3 separate regions of the Homo sapiens genome follow, and regions 1 and 3 are each linked to region 2. Evidence: promoter capture Hi-C in human tissues and cell types (Jung and others, 2019). All regions are on one chromosome and are shown on one strand. The core of a region is centred on a gene start or on the middle of the fragment in contact, and the rest is flanking DNA. Distances in the headings are between cores, read along the strand shown. Region 1 has its middle 59 kb from the start of KDR. Region 2 holds the start of KDR (kinase insert domain receptor). Region 3 has its middle 44 kb from the start of KDR.

Region 1 (4,273 bases), core at 1,247-3,746, 59 kb before region 2:
CCTCATAGAAATGATACCCTGGTGGGCATTGGGTTGCCTACTCTCATCTGTACTTCCTTTTCCTTCATAAGGAACCCCAATTCGTTTAGGCACACAATCAAGAGCTTCATGATGAAGCTTTAAGCTTTGACCATCCCACCCCAAGTTCCAAGAGAAACCCTGATTGGTCTAAGGATAATCCCATTCTCCTTGCTAGTAGCAGAGTTAGCAATGGGCCACCTCTGACCAATGAACTGTGAGGTGAGATCTGAGGTAGGGGTGAGAGCTTCTGGGGATCATTTGCTTGCTTCTGAGAGAGAGCTCAGGATGAGATGGTATCTCTTCTTCCTCCAAATTTATGTGTTTTGACCAAATGCAGCCATTTTGCTCCCTGTGTGATGCTGAAACTGCCACTGAAGGCAGAAAAGCAAGAGCTTGGAAAGCCTGGGTCCTTGAAGGTTTCACTGAGCTGCTGATTTCAATAAGGCTGAAGCGCGTTCTACCTCCAGACTTCCTGCTTTGTGAGGTGATAAGTTTTCTTATTGTTAAAACCAGTAGTTCCCAACTTTTGCTATGATTCAGAATCCCTAGGGGGATTTAAATAACACTGATCCCCAAGTTTTCCTAGTGTAAAGTCAGGGTCTTCAGAGGCCAAGCGCTCTGAGTCAGGGTTTTCTGTTAGTGACATCAGAAAGCATCTTGACTGATATAGACACCTTTGAGGATATCTCCACCGTTTTTGTTGTTGTTATTGTTGTTTTGGGTTTTTTTAAAACCTTCAAAGCAGAGATTTGTTTTGAGATTTTCACACCTAGGTTCCTCCTGGAACTGAGATCTTGGCTTCTAAAGTGCAGCATTATTGATTTCTTCTGTTTCCCGGGCATTTATAGCGAAACCCATCCAAAGCCAATTCCAGGTGACTTTGGATATTTGTAACACATTAAGGATTAAAGACGTGAAAGAACCTGCTTAGTCATTTAATAAAAGTATATATTTTATGTTTTCCAGAAATACTTTGTAAAGAGTTACCTTTTTACTGTATTTTTAGCAAATATTGAGTTTGGGTAGGACTGTCAAATGAATACAGTATTTAAATATCTCATGGTTTTGGTTGGTACATTGTGGAAAGTACAGGCCTTTACAATCTTCATACCTTGAGTTTCTATAAATTCCCAACAAACTTCAAAAAGTTTTTTTTATGCAAGTACATTCTTAAAATCATGTTTAGCAGAGGGCTGTTATAAATAGTACCTTTTTAAAAGAGAGTTCAACAAGCTCTCGGATATCTACTGCGGCATCAGTTCGTAATACACATCATTGAAAGTACCATATCTGAACAGTTGGTGGGTGCAACGGCATAACAAAGCTGTCTCTTGAGATAAATAGTAAAAAAAAAAAAAATCACAGAATCCCAAATGAGAATGACAACTCCAAACTGGCCCACCACTCTCTCTGCCCTGGCCCTGGGAGTACACTTGGCTGAGGAGACAACTATGCACCTTTCAGGCACTAACACTTCCCAGTCATGGCTGTACCATCAGCACAAGCTGTGGGCTACCAATAAAATATAATAAGCCAGACCCAAAAATCTCACGATCACTGTGGGAACCCGGTCAAGCCCACCATACTACTGATGGTTTTTGTGCCATTAAACAGCAAGTAAGTTAATAATTGCAGCAATTTATCTCAATGCTCCCTGCTGCTTTTAGTGCTTAACTCAAATATAACGTTCACCAGCTTCTGCCAGTAGGCAAGATGGAGAGCTTTATCAGAAAAAGTAAAGATCGCTTTGTGATTATTATTTTGCCTTAAGGCAAAGCTACCCTTAAGTGCCCCCACACAGCTCCTGGTGGGACGTTATCTCACGAAGGCTCTGGAAATGAGCACTATGGCATTTAGAAGATTTCCATCCATGCCTGCCCCACCCCACCCCCAACACACTTTTGAAAAATTGAATACGGTGCTGTCTTAAATCACAGAAAATGGCAATTGATAAGATATAGAGTAAGCTATGTTTTCCTCCCAGCATAGCCTGGCTGACCTGGGCACTCCCTGTTCCAGACCTACCTGGTCCTTGCTTAGCCGCAAAGGCCACTTACTGTCTTGCCATTCTATGTCTATTGCTCACCTGGTATGTTAAATGTTCAGGACAGTCATACTGTCTCCACGTATGGACTCAGTGTATTACAATACAGAGCTTAATTCTTGCAGACTAAGAACCCAGCAGGTTGCAGAGGTCAGGAGTAGCCTGGGACTAACTTTTAATTGAGTGTCTGGTGGGAGAATCTCTCGTTGTTTAAGAGAAATCATTTAAGCTTCCACTTAAAGTGATTCTGTCCCTAGGTATTTTTTTTTCATCACATGTCAGTGGATTGAAGATTCAGATAGCATCTGACATCAGTGACATCACAGTTTGCCTCTAGTGAATGTAAATTGTATTTGCAAAGAAGATATTTTCAGTAGTCAAATATTTCTGAATGAAAGATGCATGGAGAAGACCAGAAGAGAAAGAGAATGTGAACTTGCAAAAAGGTAGTATCTGTATAACAACCATCTCCCCAGAAGTAACTGCTGCTGCCCAGGCTCCCACACTCTCCAGAGAGCCTTCTACTGGAGGGCTAACTGGCCAATTCAAAGGAAAGAACCTTTCTCAAGATTTTACTTCTTTTTTCTTTTTCTTTCTTCTTTTCTTTTTCTTTTTCTTTTTTTTTTTTTTTTTTTTTTTTTTTTTTTTTTTTTTTTTTTTTTTTTGAGATGGAGTTTCACTCTTGTCGCCCAGGCTGGAGTGCAATATCATGATCTTGGCTCACTGCAACTTCTGCCTCCCAGCTTCAAGTGATTCTCCTGCTTCAACCTCCTGAGCAACTGGTATTACAGGCACCCACCACCATAACCGGCTAATATTTGTATTAGTAGAGATGGGGTTTCATTATGTTGGCCAGGCTGGTCTCAAACTACTGAACTCACGTGATCTGCCTGCCTCAGCCTCCCAAAGTGCTGGGATTACAGGTGTGAGCCATCGTGCCCAGCCAGATTTTACTTTAAAATCCTAAATTTTAACTTGTGATAATCTCCCCAGCATCCCATCCCAACTGTTGGTTATTTGCTTGAGAAGTCTCATTTCTATAAAATATTGAAGAAATCCAAAAATATGATAGCAAGTGCTTTTCACGACTGCTCTGTGCTTTCACCATCTCAAAAAGTTCCCAAACAACGTAAAGTTAATTGTGACATAAAAGCCCCAATGAATTTCCAAAGATCAGGCTAGACCAGGCAAGAAATGATATATGAAAGAACATATTATTATAAGCTCTGTCGATACATCTTTGTCACTTATTTTTGGTTGGTCTTGATATCAACTGGAATCTGAAGAATGGCAGATTTTTCCACAAGGCATTGAGAAATGTTACTAATGAGCCCCAAATTATTTGTTACAATCATAAATTCTGAAATCAGCTTCTGGAGTGAAAACCCAGATCTACTACTTACTAACTATATAACTTTGGACACATTAAGTTAACATGTCTAAACCTCAGTTTCTTCATCTGTAAATTGGTGATAATATTAGTAGCTAGCTCATAGGGTTGTTGTGAGAAATACATTAGATAACAGATATGTAACTGTGTATTACTCTGCCTAGTGAAATTAGCTCTTAATAATCTTAGGTTATTATCATTTTTGTTATTATTGTTAATATTAAATCAGTGGAAATGACATTGGCACATGAAGTGAAAGCCATTTAGCAACTGCTTGGCTAGAAATGGGACTTAGAGCCTCCAGACTGCTAACCCCATGCAAAGCTACAGCTTTAATAGGCTTGCCCAGCATCCATTTGCTGTTCTGCAGGGGAAGCAACCTTCACCAGGATCCTCTAGCATTTCCATGCAACCTAACATCAAAGTGCCAAACCCTGGAATTAGCAGAAAACACTGAGTGGCTGCCGTACTGAGCTAAGGCAGCTATGACTTCTTCAAAGCTGCCTTTTTTATGGAAACAAAAGGCGCCAGGGCCCTTGGTCATTCATGGCTGTGGTTCCTCCATGTCCTGTTTCCTTAGGACCCCGTAAGATCACCCTCCTGATCCATCACTAGTTGCCATTCTAATGATCTATCAGGAAAAGATACCTGCCATTGATTCGGTTTCCCTGGGGTGGACTCACAGTAATTTATGAACCAGCCAGAGTGTCCTCTCCTTGCGGACTTAATACGCTTAACAGCTAATTACATCTGTGTAGGGATTACACTTTACATTGTCCAGCTTTATGAAAACAAACCCTGGGCTTCCTCAGATTCCG
Region 2 (4,131 bases), core at 1,099-3,598:
GAAAGATGCTGAAAACATGATGTACAATTCACACTGCCATCCAAATGAGAAAAAAACCATTATTTGGGCACATTCTTGTGAGAAAACAAATGGCAGTAAAAATGATTCTCAATAAACTGTGCCCACTCGGCTACCAAAATCAGAAACTCTTGAAGGTCTCTCATAATTTATTGCCACAGATCACATTCTAGACACACTTTCCTGTGTAACAAATATTTTAAAAAAGAAAAGGTATGTCCTTCATTCATAGGAAGCTGAGACTATGCCATACTATTCTAGAGACACGTTTACAACAAAAATCTATTCAACAAGGCTCTCAATAACTTCAAATTCATATTTGTAGACCAACATAGTTTTTTGTTTTTTGTTTTTGCTCCATTAAATGTCATTCGTTTTCATTGGCAAGCTTGAGCTGGACTCTTCAGAAAGTTCTAAAGAAATAACTGTAAGAGGTACACATGCTACTACTCAATAAAAAGCCCTTCTATGTTCAAATCCCATAACCAATATTAATTAATTTGTGCACTGTTACCCTTCCAGCTCAAAGACGGGAAGGAAAAACAACAGTGCCTCTGTCTCTAGAATTTGATGGCACCAATTACAGCCCAATCCAATTAAGCAAGTAATGCACTCCAAAAGGGCAAGTTCACCATTATATTCAGGGCGACCGGCCTGCCGTTACTACTACGCTAGGAAACACCCCAGGCTTAAAAGCAACTCACTTCTTTGTGGAATACAGAGCAACCACATGTTCCAGACCTTCATTCTCTGCCCAGAAAGGGGGAGAGAGAGGGCTTGTCTGGGACAAATGAGTGTCCATGGTGGACTGGACCCGTTGAACCAAGTCATTATAAAGAAAATTCAGTAACCATGGACAGATGATCCTGGTACTGTATGTGGGTGTGAGTGTCTTCTAAGACATGTGATTCTTGTCTTAGGGAGTAAGAAATTTTTTTCCCTGAATTATTCGACTTTTTTTTTTTCTTTCTCTGACCCTTTCCCCTTTCTCACCCTGCAAAGGGTGGAAATCTGGATATCAGCAAACTGGCTGCAGGAAAGAAATATTATCTAAGGGGTTGAGAGAGAAAGGAAAGTGAGGAAGAAAAGACAGACAGCTATTGCATGAAGAACGTGTGTGTTCCTAATTGAAGGAGACGGAAATTTTAGGCGGCAGGGAGAGGAAGGAATGGCACTAAAGCTAGGTACCAAGGCCCACAGGAAAGGTTTTCGGAGCTTGAACTTCTGACTATGCGCTTACACCAAGGACCACAGCGCTTTGAAAGATGTGCAATGCTTTACGCAGGACAGTTGGCTGTTACTTGGAGACCCTTGGGGAAGCTGTCAAAGCCCCCAGGACAAGTCCCTATTCCCCCCCTTCTTCGCTCTGCAAGGAGAGCGGCGTCCTGCACCAAGGAAGGAAAAAAAGTTTCTCTCCGCTCCAGACCCCACTTCACACAGTGGTGTGCAAGTGTGTTCGAGCATGAAGACAACAACGGGCCGGGTCCCGCAAAGAGGCAGAACCGAGTGTACCGTCCGATCCGGGAGACCCGGCCTGAGATTCCGGCAAGGTTTTCTTCCCCGGGCCCGGACTAGGATGTTGCGCGCAGCCAGACAACTTTTCACCGCCTGTTCTCGCCTGCGGAGGCACCTCCTGCCTGCCAACCCCAGGCGCCTTCCCACCCCAGCCTCCCAAGAGCCTGAGGGTGTGTCGGCATCTCAGGACATGCTCCAGCCGAGGTCCCTGTCGCAAACCAGAGTCCTAGAAAAGGAACTGGGCTAGAGCACAGGCGACCACAGACTCGCTGGGTAATCTTGGGCCAGTCTCTGAGCCTCAGTTTCCCCACTGGTAAATGAAAGATCGCAAAATGTCAAGTCCTGTCCAACTCTCCAGCTCTACGATTCCGAGTTAGATCTGGCTTTCAGGTCCTCTCCGCCCTCACCCGACCTGTCTGCCTTCCTCCTCCAGAGTGGGCTCCTTACCCACAGAGGCGGCCCGGGTCTCCACGCAGAGCCACAGGGCGACGGCCAGCAGCACCTTGCTCTGCATCCTGCACCTCGAGCCGGGCGAAATGCCCAGAACTCGGGAGCCGGTTCTTTCTCCCAGCGCCTGTCTAGAGAAGGAGGCGCGGAGGTGGAACTCGCGGCACCCCGCAGCGCAGGACAGTTGAGCGCACAGGGCTAGGGAGCCCGGGCGCCGACCGCGGCTGCAGGGGCGTCTGCGGGTGCCGGTAGGAGAGGATATCCAGGCTGCCAGACGGACTTTCTGCGGCGCGCAAGTGATGCCCGGCGCAGGCAGAGGAAACGCAGCGACCACACATTGACCGCTCTCCCGGGGTCCCGGGACTCAGTGCAGGGTGGGAGCTGGTGCCGAAACTCTAGAGCGCGGAGGCGGGGCCATGCGGGGCGGGGCCGGAGCGGAGGAGGGGCTCTCCCGTGCGGCCAGCCCCGCCCCTCACCCGGGTACCCGGCGGCGATCTCCAGCTCCCCAAGCCCATTTACATCTCCCCATTTCCCCACACAACTGGACTGCGCTGGGCCCCAAGTCGCCCAGGAGAGAACATCCCAGAGCAACAACTTTGTTTCTGGTGTAAATAAAAAGTACTCGGTAACGGGCGCTGAGCAACTCCAAGATTTAATCGCTTGCCGGTCCCCGAAATTTGGGGAGCATCACCAGGAGCGCTGCGAAGAGCAGCGCTCCCTCACCAGGCGCGTCAAAGTGCAGGACCCTCTTCGCCATCGCGCGCGTCTGAAGTGGCCGAGAATCTGCAGCAGTTTGGAGCCACAAGGGAGAAGCGGATACTCAGCCAAGTATGCCGGGTCGCAAGCTGGCAGCGACTCCTGCCAGTAGTTTTGGTTTTTGTATAAGGGTATTTTGTTTGGCCAGTATAATTGTAGTTTAAAAAGCTGAATCTGGTTGCTCTTAATCAGAAAACGCACTTGCCCAGTTCGCCAACATTCCCGCTATTTCCCAAAATATTTGGCGGCTCCAAGTTTGAAGTGACCTGCCTAGCCCCAAGAAGGCTTTTGTCCATCGTGCTCCCCAACGAAGAGCCCTAGTGAAAGTTTGGCCATGCCCCTTTTCAGAGCAGAGCTTCCAGCCAAGATATCCTTAGTCCCAGGGGAAGGAGGCCAGCTGCCAGCGTGCTTCAGTGGAGGAGCAATGAAGCAAAAGCACCTAGGACACTCTGTGACCAAATTGCACAACTGTCTCCACGTGTGTGGACTTCTTGTGGCAGCTGTTTGGAGGGGAACTCCAATTCCTTCCTGACCACATTCGTTCCTTCTGGTTTTCTGTCCATATCTCCCCACACCTGGGGAGTGACATCAAATGTCCCCTAACTTCATTAAATATGAATCTTCCAGATGCCTATGTCTTTTACCTCCCAGAGGTGCTTTTTAATGACAACCTAAAGGACCATTCTTCACCAAGATAAACACACAGAATTATTATATCTACACCTAATTCAAACTAGATTGATTGTATACAATTAATGTAACCTGTTACTTATCTTCATCTGTTTTTAAATATTTACTGTATTCACGCTTTTACTTTTCCAAGTTGACAGGTGAAATATTTTAATGCTGAAATATAATGAATGTATATGGCAAAAAAAAATTTTGGAAAAACACAAAAAGGCTTAGAGTGAAAAGACTTTTCTTTTGGCAGAGGCATTTTTATGTTTCCTTTTTTTTCCAAGCAGATTCTTAAACACAAGTATGTAGACATGTCACCCTTCTCTTCCCACAATTGCTTGGTATAAATGCTATTTGAGCCTTGGCTTTTTTCCCTTTAAATTTGATTTATTTATTTGAGACAAGGTCTCACTATGTTGCCCAGGCTGGTCTCCAATGCCTGGACTCAGTCCATCCTCCTGCCTCAGTCTCCCAAAGTGCTGGGATTACAAGCACGAGCCACCCTGCCCAGCCTTCACTTTATAATATACACTGGAGATTCGTTCTACATCAACCTTTAAAGCTCCATCTTTTATTTATTTATTTATTTATTTATTTATTTATTTATTTTTATATAGAGGCAGGGTCTCACTATGTTGCCTAAGCTGGCTGCGAACAAAGCTCCATCCTTCCATCTTTTCAATGTTGGCATAGTGCTCTACTATATAGATGTACTCA
Region 3 (4,262 bases), core at 359-2,858, 43 kb after region 2:
CCAGTAGTCATTCAGGAGCAGCTTGTTCAGTTTCCATGTAGTTGAGCGGTTTTGAGTGAGTTTACTAATCCTGAGTTCTAATTTGATTGCACCATAGTCTGAGAGACAGTTTATTGTGATTTTTGTTCTTTTCCATTTGCTGAGGAGTATTTTACTACCAATTATGTGGTCAGTTTTAGAATAAGTGCAATGTGGTGCTGAGAAGAATGTATATTCTGTTGATTTGGGGTGGAGAGTTCTGTAGATAGATGTCTATTAGGTCCACTTGGTTCAGAGCTGAGCTCAAGTCCTGGATATCCTTGTTAACCTTCTGCCTCATTGATCTGTCTAATATTGACAATGGGGTGTTAAAGTATCCCATTATTATTGTGTGGGAGTTTAAGTCTCTTTGTAGGTCTCTACGGACTTGCTTTATGAATCTGGGTGCTCCTGTATTGGGTGCATATATATTTAGGATAGTTAGCTCTTCCTGGTGAATTGATCCCTTTACCATTATGTAGTGGCCTTCTTTGTCTCTTTTGATCTTTGTTGGTTTAAAGTCTGTTTTATCAGAGACTAGGATTGCAACCCCTGTTTTTTTTTTTTTTTTTTTTTTTTACCATCCATTTGCTTGGTAGATATTCCTCCATCCCTTTATTTTGAGCCTATGTGCATCTTTGCATGTGAGATGGGTGTCCTGAATATAGCATACTGATGGGTCTTGACTCTTTATCCAATTTGCCAGTCTGTGTCTTTTAATTGGGGCATTTAGCCCATTTACATTTAAGGTTAATATAGTTATGTTTGAATTTGATCCTGTCATTATGATTTTAGCTGGTTATTTTGCCCATTAATTGAGGTATTTCTTCACAGCGTCAATGCTGTTTACCATTTGGCATATTTTTGCAGTGGCTGGTACCGGTTGCTCCCTTCCATGTTTAGTGCTTCCTTCAGCAGCTCTTGTAGGGCAGGCCTGGTGGTGACAAAATCTCTCAGCATTTGCTTTTCTGTAAAGGATTTTATTTGTCCTTCACTTATGAAGCTTAGTTTAGCTGGATATGTGATTCAGAGTTGAAAATTCTTTTCTTTAAGAATGTCGAATATTGGCCCCCACTCTTTTCTGGCTTGTAGGGTTTCTGCCGAGAGATCTGCTGTTAGTCTGATGGGCTTCCCTTTGTGGATAACCCGACCTTTCTCTCTGGCCACCCTTAAAATTTTTTCCTGCCTTTCAACCTTGGTGAATCTGACAATTATGTGTGTTGGGGTTGCTCTTCTCGAGGAGTATCTTTGTGGTGTTCTCTGTATTTCCTGAATTTGAATGTTGGCCTGCCTTGCTAGCTTAGGGATGTTCTCCTGGATAATATCCTGAAGAGTGTTTTCTAACTTGTTTCCATTCTCCCCATCACTTTCTAGTACACCAATTAGATGTAGATTTGGTCTTTTCACATAGTCCCATATTTCTTGGAGGCTTTATTTCTTTTTACTCTTTTTTTCTCTGATCTTGTCTTCTCACTTTATTTCATTAATTTGATCTTCAATCACTGATATTCTTTCTTCCACTTGATCGAATCGACTATTGAAGCTTGTGCATGCGTCACGAAGTTCTTGTGCCACGGTTTTCAGCTCCATCAGGTCATTAAGGTCTTCTCTACACTGTTTATTCCAGTTCGTCATTCATGTAACATTTTTTCAAGGTTTTTAGCTTCCTTGCAATGGGTTAGAATATGCTCCTTTAGCTAGGAGAAGTTTTTTATTACCAACGTTCTGAAGCTTACTTCTGTCAACTCGTCAAACTCATTCTCTGTCCAGTTTTGTTCTCTTGCTGGCGAGGAGCTGTGATCTTTTGGAGGAGAAGAGGTGTTCTGTTTTTTGGAATTTTCAGCTTTTCTGCTCTAGTTTCTCCCCATCTTTGCGATTTTATCTACCTTTGGTCTTTGAGGTTGGTGACCTACAGGTGGGGTTTTGGTGTGGATGCCCTTTTTGTTGATGTTGATGCTATTCCTTTCTGTTTGTTAGTTTTCCTTCTAACAGTCAGACCTCTGAGCTGCAGGTCTGCTGGAATTTGCTGGAGGTCCATTCCAGACCCTATTTGCCTGGTTATCACCAGTGGAGGCTGCAGAACAGCAAATATTGCTGCCTGAACCTTCCTCTGGAAGGTTCTTCCCAGAAGGGAACCCACCTGTTTGAGATGTCTGTCGGCCCCTACTGGTAGGTGTTTCCCAGTCAGACTACATGGGGGTCAGGGACCCGCTTAAGGAGGCAGTGTGTCTGTTCTCAGAGCTCGGACACCATGCTGAGAGATCCACTGCTCTCTTCAGAGCTGTCAGACAGGGACTTTTAAGTCTGCAGAAGCTGTCTGCTCCCTTTTGTTCTACTATGCCCTGCCCCAGAGGTGGAATCTATAGAGGCGGTAGGCCTTGCTGAGCTGTGGTGGGCTCCGCCCAGTTCGTGCTTCCCAGCCTCTTTGTTTACGCTGTGAGCTACTCAAGATTCAGCAATGTCATATGCCCCTCCCCGCATCAAGCTGCAGTGTCACAGGTTGATCTCAGACTGCAGCGCTAGCAGTGAGGAAGGCTCCGTGGTCATGGTACTGCCGAGCCAGGCATGGGAGGGTATCTTCTCGTTGCTAAGACTGCAGATAAAGTGCAGTATGTGGTCAGGGGTGTACCGTTTCTCCAGGTACAGTCTGTTATGGCTTCCCTTGACTAGGAAAGGGAAATCCCCCAACCCCTTGTGCTTCCCAGGTGAGGTGACGCCCCACCCTGCTTCAGCTCACCTTCCGTGGGCTGCACCCACTGTCCAACCAGTCCCAGTGAGTCGGTACCTCAGCTGGAAATGCAGAAATCACCCATCTTCTGTGTCGATCTCGCTGGGAGCTGCAGACCAGAGCTGTTCCTATTTGGCCACCTTGGAAGTGACCCCGAGTTTTGGCTTTTCTAGGTATAGATGGAATCATACATACATAGACTTTTGTGTTTGAGTTCCATTGCACATAGTTTTTTTTGTTTTGTTTTTTGTTTTTTGTTTTTAAGATACAGTCTCACTGTGTTGCTCAAGCTGGAGTACAATGGCACGATCTTGGCTCACTGCAACCTCTTCCTCCTGGGTTCAAATGATTCTCGTGCCTCAGCCTCCTGAGTAGCTGGGAATATAGGTGAGTGCCACCACACCCAGCCACTGCACACAGCTTTTGAGTCATCGATGTCATTATGTGTATTTATGCTTTGTTCCTTTTAATTGCTGAGTAGTACGACATCACATGAATATACCACAATTTGTTTTTCCATTCATGAGTTCATAAACATTCGAGTTGTTTTCATTTTTTTGCTCTGAATATTCACGTACATGGCTTTTGTGTGGGCATGTTTTCATTTCTTTGGGATAAACAGCTAGAAGTGGGATTGGTGGGTCATATGTTAAGTGTCTGTTTAATTTTATAGTAAACTGCTAATGTTTTCCAAAGTGGCTGTACCATTTCACATTTGCGTATATCTCATTATAACTATTTTTAAAAAGGAAAAACTGGCCAGGCGCACTGGCTCATGCCTGTAATCCCAGCACTTTGGGAGGCTGAGGCAGGTGGATCACAAGGTCAGGGGATCGAGATCATCCTGGCTAACACAGTGAAACCCTGTCTCTACTAAAAATACAAAAAAAAAAAAAAATTAGCCGGGCGTGGTGGCAGGTGCCTGTAGTCCCAGCTATGCAGGAGGCTGAGGCAGGAGAATGGCGTGAACCTGGGAGGTGGTGCGGTGAGCCGAGGTGCAGTGAGCCGAGGTGCAGTGACCTCAGTGCAGTGAGATGAGATCACACCACTGCACTCCAGCCTGGGCAACTGAGCGAGACTCTGTCTCAAAAAATAAATAAATAAATAAAAATAAAAAGGAAAAACTGGGGGCCAGGTGCAGTGGCTTATACCTGTAATCCTAGCACTTTGGAAGGCCAAGGAGGATGTATCGATTGAGCTCAGGAATTTAAGACCAGCATGGGAAACATGGTGAAACCCTGTCTCTATAAAAAATACAAAAGAATTAGCCGGACATGGTGGCACCCAGCCTGTGGTCCCAGCTATTCGGGAGGCTGAAGTGGGAGGATCACTTGAGCCCAGGAGGTGAAGGTTGCAGTGAGCAGAGATCACGCCACTATACTCCAGCATGGGTGATGGAGTGAGACCCTGTCTCAAGAAAAAAAAAAAACAGCAAATTTCATCCCATTTGAATAAAGTAGATGTAAATATAATTGCACAGCTAAGGAAAGAAATGGGGGTCGGGCACGGTGGCTCA

Evidence for each region. Contacts are between HindIII fragments. The study calls those that stand out against the background at their distance.
Region 1: a fragment that was not itself captured here is called in contact with the fragment with the promoter of KDR in region 2 in 2 of the 25 tissues and cell types used here (adrenal gland and spleen).
Region 3: a fragment that was not itself captured here is called in contact with the fragment with the promoter of KDR in region 2 in 2 of the 25 tissues and cell types used here (mesenchymal stem cells and ovary).

The regions. Positions count from the first base shown.
Region 1 is chr4:55,064,443-55,068,715 of GRCh38, forward strand. No RefSeq gene overlaps it. Among named protein-coding and RNA genes, the nearest start is that of KDR, 59 kb to the right of the region's middle. The HindIII fragment of the contact is 4,752 bases long and covers 121-4,273 here.
Region 2 is chr4:55,123,247-55,127,377 of GRCh38, forward strand. It overlaps KDR (kinase insert domain receptor), which reads right to left and starts at 2,349. Exons shown (of 30, transcript NM_002253.4): 1 at 1,981-2,349. The coding sequence starts at 2,047. The HindIII fragment of the contact is 13,799 bases long and covers 1-4,131 here.
Region 3 is chr4:55,167,345-55,171,606 of GRCh38, forward strand. No RefSeq gene overlaps it. Among named protein-coding and RNA genes, the nearest start is that of KDR, 44 kb to the left of the region's middle. RefSeq lists an enhancer at 2,387-3,216. The HindIII fragment of the contact is 3,718 bases long and covers 1-3,467 here.